3 separate regions of the Homo sapiens genome follow, and regions 1 and 2 are each linked to region 3. Evidence: promoter capture Hi-C in 16 types of primary human blood cells and fetal thymus (Javierre and others, 2016). All regions are on one chromosome and are shown on one strand. Each heading gives the region's core, a stretch centred on a gene start or on the middle of the fragment in contact. The rest is flanking DNA. Distances are from core to core; before and after follow the strand shown. Region 1 overlaps NAP1L4 (nucleosome assembly protein 1 like 4). Region 2 overlaps NAP1L4 (nucleosome assembly protein 1 like 4). Region 3 holds the start of CARS1 (cysteinyl-tRNA synthetase 1).

Region 1 (2,700 bases), core at 45-2,544, 110 kb after region 3:
ACTGTCCTCTGCCTGCTTGGTCCAGTGCAGTAGGACTGACCACTTGAGGACTTGAAATATGGCTGCTGAGACTGAAGAACTGAACATTTCATTTACCTTAGTTTAAATTTAAATAGTGAGCTAAGGGCTAGTGGCTACACATTGGAAAGCTTATCTGAAACTGTTTTGATCATACACCCGTCAGTTTAAAGGACTTGAATATGCATGTGTGCTATTTGCTTACTTATATGCGGTATCTGTACTGCTGGTGAGCACTGTGCCACATTTGCTTATAGTACATGTGCGTTTCATTCACAATACGTTCAGCACAGGTACTACTGATGAGCAGTGTCAGTTAGAGGCTAGAAGTGCCAGCTCAGATTAGACTGCTCAGACTCGCATCCCCATTCTCCCTTTAGTAGCTCCACCACCTCCTTGAGCTTCAGTTTCCTCAGCTGTAAGTAGAGCTCATGGTAAAGACTCTGGTTACTTGTTAAGCCCTTAACATAGCACCTGGCACAGAGCAATGACTCAGTAAGTGTTGGCATAAAGTGTTTTACTAATGTTACTTTCTAGACCGTACCCCAACACTAGAAAGTTGTTGGAGGAGGAGGTGAATGTGGGAACCCTGGTCTTGTCTTCTCTGCACGTGGCAGCTCCTGCTCTGCCCAGGTGGGTGATGCATCTGGAGCAGCCCCTGTGCACAGCCCCTTAAGGGCAAAATGCTGTCCTTAGAGCCTTGGAATAGGCCCTGGAGCCTGCTGGAGGCTCGTTGGATCTGACGTGAAATGGAAGAATATTGAGAAGCCTTTCCCTGCCTGATGCCAGTTAGGGTCCTTAGAGCGGAAGGGCGCTGCACCGTGGCCACATCTCATCCTGGCTGCTGCGTGGCGCCAGGAGGCTGTGCACACTGTGTGAACTCCACACCAGCACAGTAGGGCCCTTCTAAGTTCCACCGAAGTTGGCTCTAAGCAAATACATGGTGTGAGCTCAACAAAATGGGAAATGTTGATAAATGAAGCTGCATTTTCATGCACTACCCTTGTTATGCAACCAGTAGTGATAAGGTGGTTTTGCTTTTGGTGTAAGTCTCATGTTTGAAACTTGATTTTTAGTCTGACCAATGATGTATTTGGATGTAGGAGAAACTGATTCAAGACAATTGACTAATGGTGGAGGTTCACCTTTGAGCACCTTATTGATCACTTTAAAGATTAAACACCAAAGTTTTAATATATTTCTACTAAGGTTTCTTTTCCCTTTGTATGAGATGTAAAATGATACCCAGATTCCTGTATCCAATAACATTATGCTGCTGGTTCGATCAGCCTTGTAGAAAATTTAAGGAAAACAAATTCATCGGTTTACAAAAATCTTTTCCTGTGTGCCTGCTCCTCGGTGTGAGAACAGCCAGGGCAGAGCTGTGGTGCCAGGTTCCCAGCTGTGTCCAGGGTACACCCTGGCTGACCAGCTTCCTATCCTATTCCTTGTTTTGCGTGACTTTCAATTTCCTGGCATGCTTTTAAAATGCGCTGCACACAAGCAAATGGCTCCTCAGGCAAGCGAGGCCCAGCAGGCAGCGTGGCTGGACTTTCTGCTCCTCTTAGGCTTGGTCAGTGAGTCACTTGATGGGACTGGTGTCTTGGGCAGGCTGCTGTCATGTTTTGTAAACCTAAAAATGTTTTTCTGTGTTTCTCCAGTTTGAAGAAGGTGAAGAAGGAGAAGAGGAGGTAAGAGACAGGTTTATGCAGTGCCACTTACCTCCCTGAAGTTGTTTCTTTGGCTTTCTCTGCTTGAAGGTTATGGACTCACAGGGCTGTGTTAAACCCATTTTTTGTGACGCTGTCTTTGATTCTAAGAATGTTCTTAAAACACTAAGCAGAAATGCATAGCAAATGCTGTGACAGTTTCCATCGTTTTTGACCCTGCAGTTGGTTCATGAAAATGTATCTTAGAAAATAATCATTTAACAAAATCTACTTTTTCAGAATTTTGTTTCTTTCAGGGCTCTCTGTGAGAACAAAAAGATACCTAGAAATAATTCTAAGTGTCCAAAGGAAGTGATGAGTCACTTGTGGGTAGCAGTAATTGATTTCCATCTAAGGCAGTGTTTTGCTCCTTGTGTTTGTGGATTGTGAATGCCACAAGAGTTTAAATCTTGTCATTCCAGCTAATTCTCACTTTTTAAATACAGGAATTAGAAGGTGACGAGGAGGGAGAAGACGAGGATGATGCGGAAATTAACCCCAAGGTTGGTAACTTTGGGGCCACCCAGACCTACTTATTATGCTGCACTCTTAGACTTTTAAAAATGTTCCCCACTTTGAGGCAGTAGTGTTAACAATATTCATTATTCCCTAATTAGAAAGTTTAAAATGTGTCAGAAAAATAGTGGAATGATTATTCAGACACTGTGTCTATAATTTGAGTGTTGAGTGTACATACTCAGTAGAAGCTTTTCCAGCTGTCTCAAGCTGTGTCTTATTTACATAGACTCCTCAGTAGAGCAACTTGACTTTCCAAGTGTTTCATTCTTTTAAGGTAAGGTAATGATTTAACTGACAACATAAATAAACTTTTCTTTGTGCGTGTTTGGAAAAGGTGCAAAGAAGGGACTTTGGGGCTCTTTTTGTTAAGGAACAGAATAATGGGATTGTGGGCATCATTTGACCCAGTTGCACTTGAGCTGAGCATGCCCAGATGATGTGTCTAGATATCTCA
Region 2 (2,700 bases), core at 50-2,549, 78 kb after region 3:
CTGAGATGGGAGGATTGCTTGAGCCCAGTAAGTTGAGGCTGCAGTGAGCCAGGATTGCATCACTACACTGCAGCCTTGGTGACTGAGATCCTGTCTCAAAAAAAATGATAACTTTTTTTTAGTTTTATTAATATCAAGTTCTTCTATTTAAGAAGTAAATGCCCTAGAACACACCCTTAATATTCAGTTACAATGTCATCTAATTCTACCAATATAGAAATAATCATCTTTAAAAGTGGAATAATACTGAGTATATTACACAAGGTTTTTACACAAGCAATACATCCTCAGTGTAGAAGTAATGGAAGATACGGAATAAACAAATGCAATTAGAAAATAATCCCATAAGTTAATTTGAAAGTGTAAACACCAGTAAATGCTTTGACTTACTCTAAAATGGTTGGGCTATCATTAATGTATGTTTGTGTTGCCGAATGTATTATAAAAAATAAGGCAAATTAGAATTAATGTTATTCTGAAGTCTGGTTATTTTAGTGCCAATAAGATAATTTTATTTTATTTTATTTTTTTTTTTAGATGGAGTTTCACTCTTGTTGCCCAGGCTGGAGTGCAGTGGCATGATCTCCGCTCGCTGCAACCTCCGCCTCCTGGGTTCAAGTGATTCTTCTGCCTCAGCCTCCTGAGTAGCGGGGATTACAGGCGTGCACCACCACGCTCAGCTAATTTTGTATTTTTAGTAGAGATGGGGTTTCACCATGTTGGTCAGGCCGGTCTCGAACTCCTGAGCTCAAGTGACCCACCCACCTCGGCCTCCCAAAGTGCTTGGATTACAGGCGTGAACCACCGCGCCAGGCCGAGAAATTTTTTTATGAGTAAAGTTTGTGTGTGATGAAATGCACAGATCTGAAGTGTATAGTTTAATAAGCTTTAACAAGTGTATATACTCAGGTAACCTCAGTCAAGATCTAGAACATTTTCATCACTCTAGAAAGTTCCCTCCTGTCCCTTCTAGTGGACTCCATCCCACAGATAACCGTTGTTTAAAAAGTATATTGAACAAACATTTTTGCTTATGAATATAATTATTACAACTCTTTTTAATTTATAGGGGATAAAAACATTCAGATGGCAGATCACAGGTAAGCCAAAGTGGACTTTGTTTATTGGAGTTTAAAATTCAGTTGGTGAGCAACAGCCAAGCCATTTTTCAATAAATAATTAGAATCAAAGTTAAATGCATTTCAGCGTCTAGCTGATGGCTCATTTCTTGTGTATGTATTTGAGCACGTAAAGAAATTACTTCCGACATGAACAGTGCCTCAGACATTGACACTACAGATCTTTTATGGAAAGCAATCGTTTTGCTCTCCATGCTTTAACACCCCTGGGGTGAAGTTAGGTAATTTTGACACTCTCCTAACAGTCTGTAGTTGTCAGTGATCAAGTGGAAGATTTTGTTTTGTGGATTGAGGGTTACTTTTAGTTGTGTATATTATTTGATGTTTATTTTTTGTGAGGGAGGTGTGTCCAGGCATCTTTAAAAACTGTTTCATGGCTCATTTTACACTTGTTGTGGCTAATTTTACAAAGCCACTTTGGGCACTGTCTTAACTTGGTAAGACTGCCTTGCTCTGATCACATGAGCAGCTGACCAAACAGTAACATGTTCGTTGGTTGATGGGTTTGGTTTGAGGGCTGGGAGCAGATTTTTTGAGGAAAGAAGCTGTAGAAATGAGAGCTAAGAAGCTTTGGCTAAGGTTGGAAATAAGAACTTTGTAGGGCTTTATGTTTGGGAGAGGAGAGGGGATGTTACGTAGTAGAATATTTTTATAGCAGAGAGGACAGCCTCTGAGATAACATGCACATTGGTAGTTTTCTTCTGCCCAAATCTGACGTCACTGTACAGATACCTCTTAATATATTGAATAAGAAACATGTCCATTTGTGCTATGTCTTTGGAACTTTCTTTACAGTAATACTTTTTAAACATACTGTTGTTTTAGTTTTTCAGATGGGGTTCCTTCAGATTCCGTGGAAGCTGCTAAAAATGCAAGTAACACAGGTCAGTCCACTGCACATGGAGAGTTTGCATCCAGTATGGGGAACGTTCCTCTCTCTGGAAACATTTATTAATGCAAGTAAAGGATTCCTGTACTGCAGTGGTTTTAGGAAAGCTAGAGTAATTAAAATGAAAAATCAGTATCTCATTAACAAAAGATGTATTTATTATAGGAATTCAGACTCTACAGTAGTAAAGAGAGTAATAGTACAGTCTACCTTCTTGTAGCTACCATCAGTGAGCTTTAGTATTGATTAACAAATGACCAGTCTTTTTTCTTATTTTTGAGATGGAGCCTTGCTGTGTTACCCAGGCTGGTCTTGGACTCCTGGGCTCAAGCAGTTTCCTGCCGCAGCCTCCCAGGTAGTTGGGGCTACAGGCACAGACCACTGCTCCTGGCCATTTTTTTTTTTTTTTTTTAAGTCTATACCCTTTACTTTCCTTCCTTTGGAAAGCAAATCCTAAGAATGTCATTTTGTTCATAAATTCACAGATGTGATATTTTTCCACCATTAAAAAAAACTATATCTGTACTCCCCACTCCCTCCAAACTGTTTGAAAGCAAGTGGTGGATATCTATTTTCCTAAAACAATTCTACAATGTCATTACCAAGAAACTTAACACTGGAGCAATACCATTCTCTAATAGACAGTCATGCTCCTGTTTCCCTGGTTTTCTC
Region 3 (2,700 bases), core at 195-2,694:
AGGCATGTGGCCGAGCTGGGCTTGGGTGACTCATGGTCCTAGAGTGATGAGTGAGAAACAGGCACTGTGAGAGTCATGGTAGGACCTGGCCAGAACTTCGTCCCCTAAGTCCTGGACTTGGTCCCTCCTTTGGGATTAGTTGGGGTCTCACAGAGCCTCCCACATCCTGGGCAAGTTACAGCACATGCTACAGGATCTTTGCAGAAATGTAAACAAACTCTTTCTTCTTTTTTTTTTCCAGCCACCAGTAGAATTTAGAATTTATTTATTTATTATTTTATTTATTTATTTATTTATTTATTTATTTGAGACGGAGTCTCACTCTGTTGCCAGGCTGGAGTGCAATGGCGCAATCTCGGCTCATTGCAACCTCCACCTCCCTGGTTCAAGCGATTCTCCTGCCTCAGCCTCCTGAGTAGCTGGGACTACAGGCAAGCGCCACCATGTCCAGCTAATTTTTGCATTTTTAGCAGAGACAGGGTTTCACCATGTTGGCCAGGATGGTCTCGATCTCTTGCCCTCATAATCCGCCCACCTCGGCCTCCCAAAGTGCTGGGATTACAGGTGTGAGCCACCGTGCCCGGCCTTAGAATTTATTATGAAATTAGACATGAGGTTCCAAAAAGTAACTAGAAGATTTTTTACTTTTTATTTTTTGAGAAAGGGTCTCACTCTGTCGCCTAGGCTGGAATGCAGTGGCACAGTCGTAGCTCACTGCAGCTTCAAACTCCTGGACTCAAATGATCCTCCTGCCTTGTCCTTTCAAGGTGCTGGGATTACAGGCATGAGCCACTAATCCTGGCTAATAATTTTTCTTGACATATTAAAATTCTGTTTCTTAAATAGCATTTCCTCTCATTTTGGATGGGTGCACGAACCTTGGGTGGGATATCCTTGGGAGGTGACATCATGCACACAGAAGGCAGGAGCCCTAAGGGGGTTGGGGATGGCTCCAGAATGGGGTCTGAGAAGGAGATGGAGAAGCCTGTTCACGCAACACTTCATAGTGGCTTGCTTTCCGCAGGGTCATTGGCAGGGCGGTCCCTAGGCCTGGAGCGCTCTTCCCGCCCATCCCCAGGCCCTGCTCCAGGTCGGCCTCCTGGGAACCATCCCGTCTCGCCAGCACACCCTGTCCCGAGGCCGCCTCTGACCTCCAGGCTGGGCCTGGTCCCCACGGCGCTTAGCGCAATCATGACTTAAACACCTATTACAGGACGCTCAGTCTTTAGTGCTTGTCTCCCCGCGGCTGGGCTGACTACTCCCAGCACGGCCACTGAACGCTTGGCCGCGCGATGCTCCGGAGCGCGGGTCGCCATTGGGTTGAACTACAGCTCCCAGCATGCTCCGGGCCGGCGACATCCGGAGCCCCTGGTAGTTGCCTAGCGACCGGGCGTGTCCCGGAAGACGGGCCCGGCGTGGGGCGCGACTTCCGGGGCGGCGGTTGCATCAGATTCTAGGAAGTGTCTGTAGCCGCAGCTGCGGGTCCGGGATTCCCAGCCATGGCAGATTCCTCCGGGCAGCAGGGTGAGCGGCGCGGCCGGGCCAGGCTGAGGGCGGCTGGGGGCCTGACTGGGCGCTGGGTGCTCGGCTCGAAGGGCAGCGAGTCCTTATGTCTGAGGGGCCCGGGTGCATGGGTTCTGAGGGGCAGCTGTGTCCGTGGTCTGAGGGGCGGCAGTGCCCGAGGTCTGAGGGGTGTCAGTGCGCGGGGTCTGAGGGACGGCACGTCCTTGGGTCCGAGGGGCGGGGGTGCTCGGGGTCTGAGGGGTGTCAGTGCCCGGGGTCTGAGGGACGGCGGGTCCTGAGGTTCGAGGGGTGGCACGTCCTAGGATCCGAAGGACAACGGGTGCCCGGCTCCGAGGGACGGCCACTGGGACCCCTGGGACTCCTGCGTGAGGGTCTGCCAGACCCGTGGCTGGAGCACAGACCCCGCGGGGACCCGAGCCCGAGCGGGGCGCTGCCCAGACCACCCAGCCTCAGTTTCCTCACTTGGTTCCTGCCGAGGTCCCCTTGCATCCTCACCCCGGGAGGTGGCCCTACATCAAACAGCCTTTCCCCAGCCGGTGCCTGGGCGGGCCCTCGCTCCCTCTTGCCCCAGCTGGCCTTTAGGGGGGAGACAAAGGCCCAAGGGTTGTTTTGGTTTTCTGCCCAGACCTGGCAGCTTCCGGGAGGTGGGCGGAGGGCACCTGAGGTTGGTATTTAGGGAAATGGGGCAGAGGACGCCAGGGGTACGCGTACACACAGTAAAAGGGCTTGGGGCTTTACGAAGGCTTTCATCTCCAGTTCCGCAGGCAGTCCACTGCAAGCTGATTGTCAGAGCATTACTGCCCCATTTTATTGCCAACCCGGGAGGTTCCCCAGGGACACAGCTGTGTCAGCTCCCCCAGTCACTCATGTCACCAGCGGGTAGACCTTGAGAGACCAGTGGGTTCTTCTCTCACTGTCCCTCCAGCAAGATTTTAGGTGCTGGAAAGGCAAGAGACTGAATCAGAAAGCCCAGATTCCTAACAGTCTGGAGCAGCCTTTCCAAAGGAAACATTCTCAGTATCTAGTTTTTAATTCTTTTGGCTGGCAAAAATTAGATGCAAGTTCTTGTAAGACACCTCCAGCCCCCACCCTCAGTTTAGATCGTACCAAGATTTCCTTAGCATCTGGTGGTGCCCTTTGCCCCTGAGGGTTTATTGGGTTATAGATAGGTAGTTA

Evidence for each region. The method cuts DNA at HindIII sites, captures the fragments that hold promoters and counts their contacts. A CHiCAGO score of 5 or more calls a contact.
Region 1: a fragment that was not itself captured here is called in contact with the fragment with the promoter of CARS1 in region 3 in 1 of 17 cell types (total CD8 T cells); the score reaches 5.9 in total CD8 T cells.
Region 2: a contact is called between a fragment that was not itself captured here and the fragment with the promoter of CARS1 in region 3, in 2 of 17 cell types (naive CD8 T cells and naive CD4 T cells). The highest score is 5.7, in naive CD8 T cells.

Annotation. Positions count from the first base shown.
Region 1 is chr11:2,950,789-2,953,488 of GRCh38, reverse strand. It overlaps NAP1L4 (nucleosome assembly protein 1 like 4), which reads left to right. Exons shown (of 16, transcript NM_005969.4): 13 at 1,680-1,709; 14 at 2,174-2,230. Among named protein-coding and RNA genes, the nearest start is that of SNORA54, 12 kb to the left of the region's middle. The HindIII fragment of the contact is 2,285 bases long and covers 152-2,436 here.
Region 2 is chr11:2,977,607-2,980,306 of GRCh38, reverse strand. NAP1L4 (nucleosome assembly protein 1 like 4) reads left to right here. Exons shown (of 16, transcript NM_005969.4): 2 at 1,070-1,100; 3 at 1,965-2,023. The coding sequence starts at 1,087. Among named protein-coding and RNA genes, the nearest start is that of NAP1L4, 13 kb to the left of the region's middle. The HindIII fragment of the contact is 821 bases long and covers 889-1,709 here.
Region 3 is chr11:3,056,167-3,058,866 of GRCh38, reverse strand. It overlaps CARS1 (cysteinyl-tRNA synthetase 1), which reads left to right and starts at 1,444. Exons shown (of 23, transcript NM_001014437.3): 1 at 1,444-1,524. The coding sequence starts at 1,500. LOC124902615 (a long non-coding RNA gene) reads right to left here and starts at 243. Exons shown (of 2, transcript XR_007062555.1): 1 at 1-243. RefSeq lists an enhancer at 1,258-1,790. The HindIII fragment of the contact is 6,695 bases long and covers 1-2,700 here.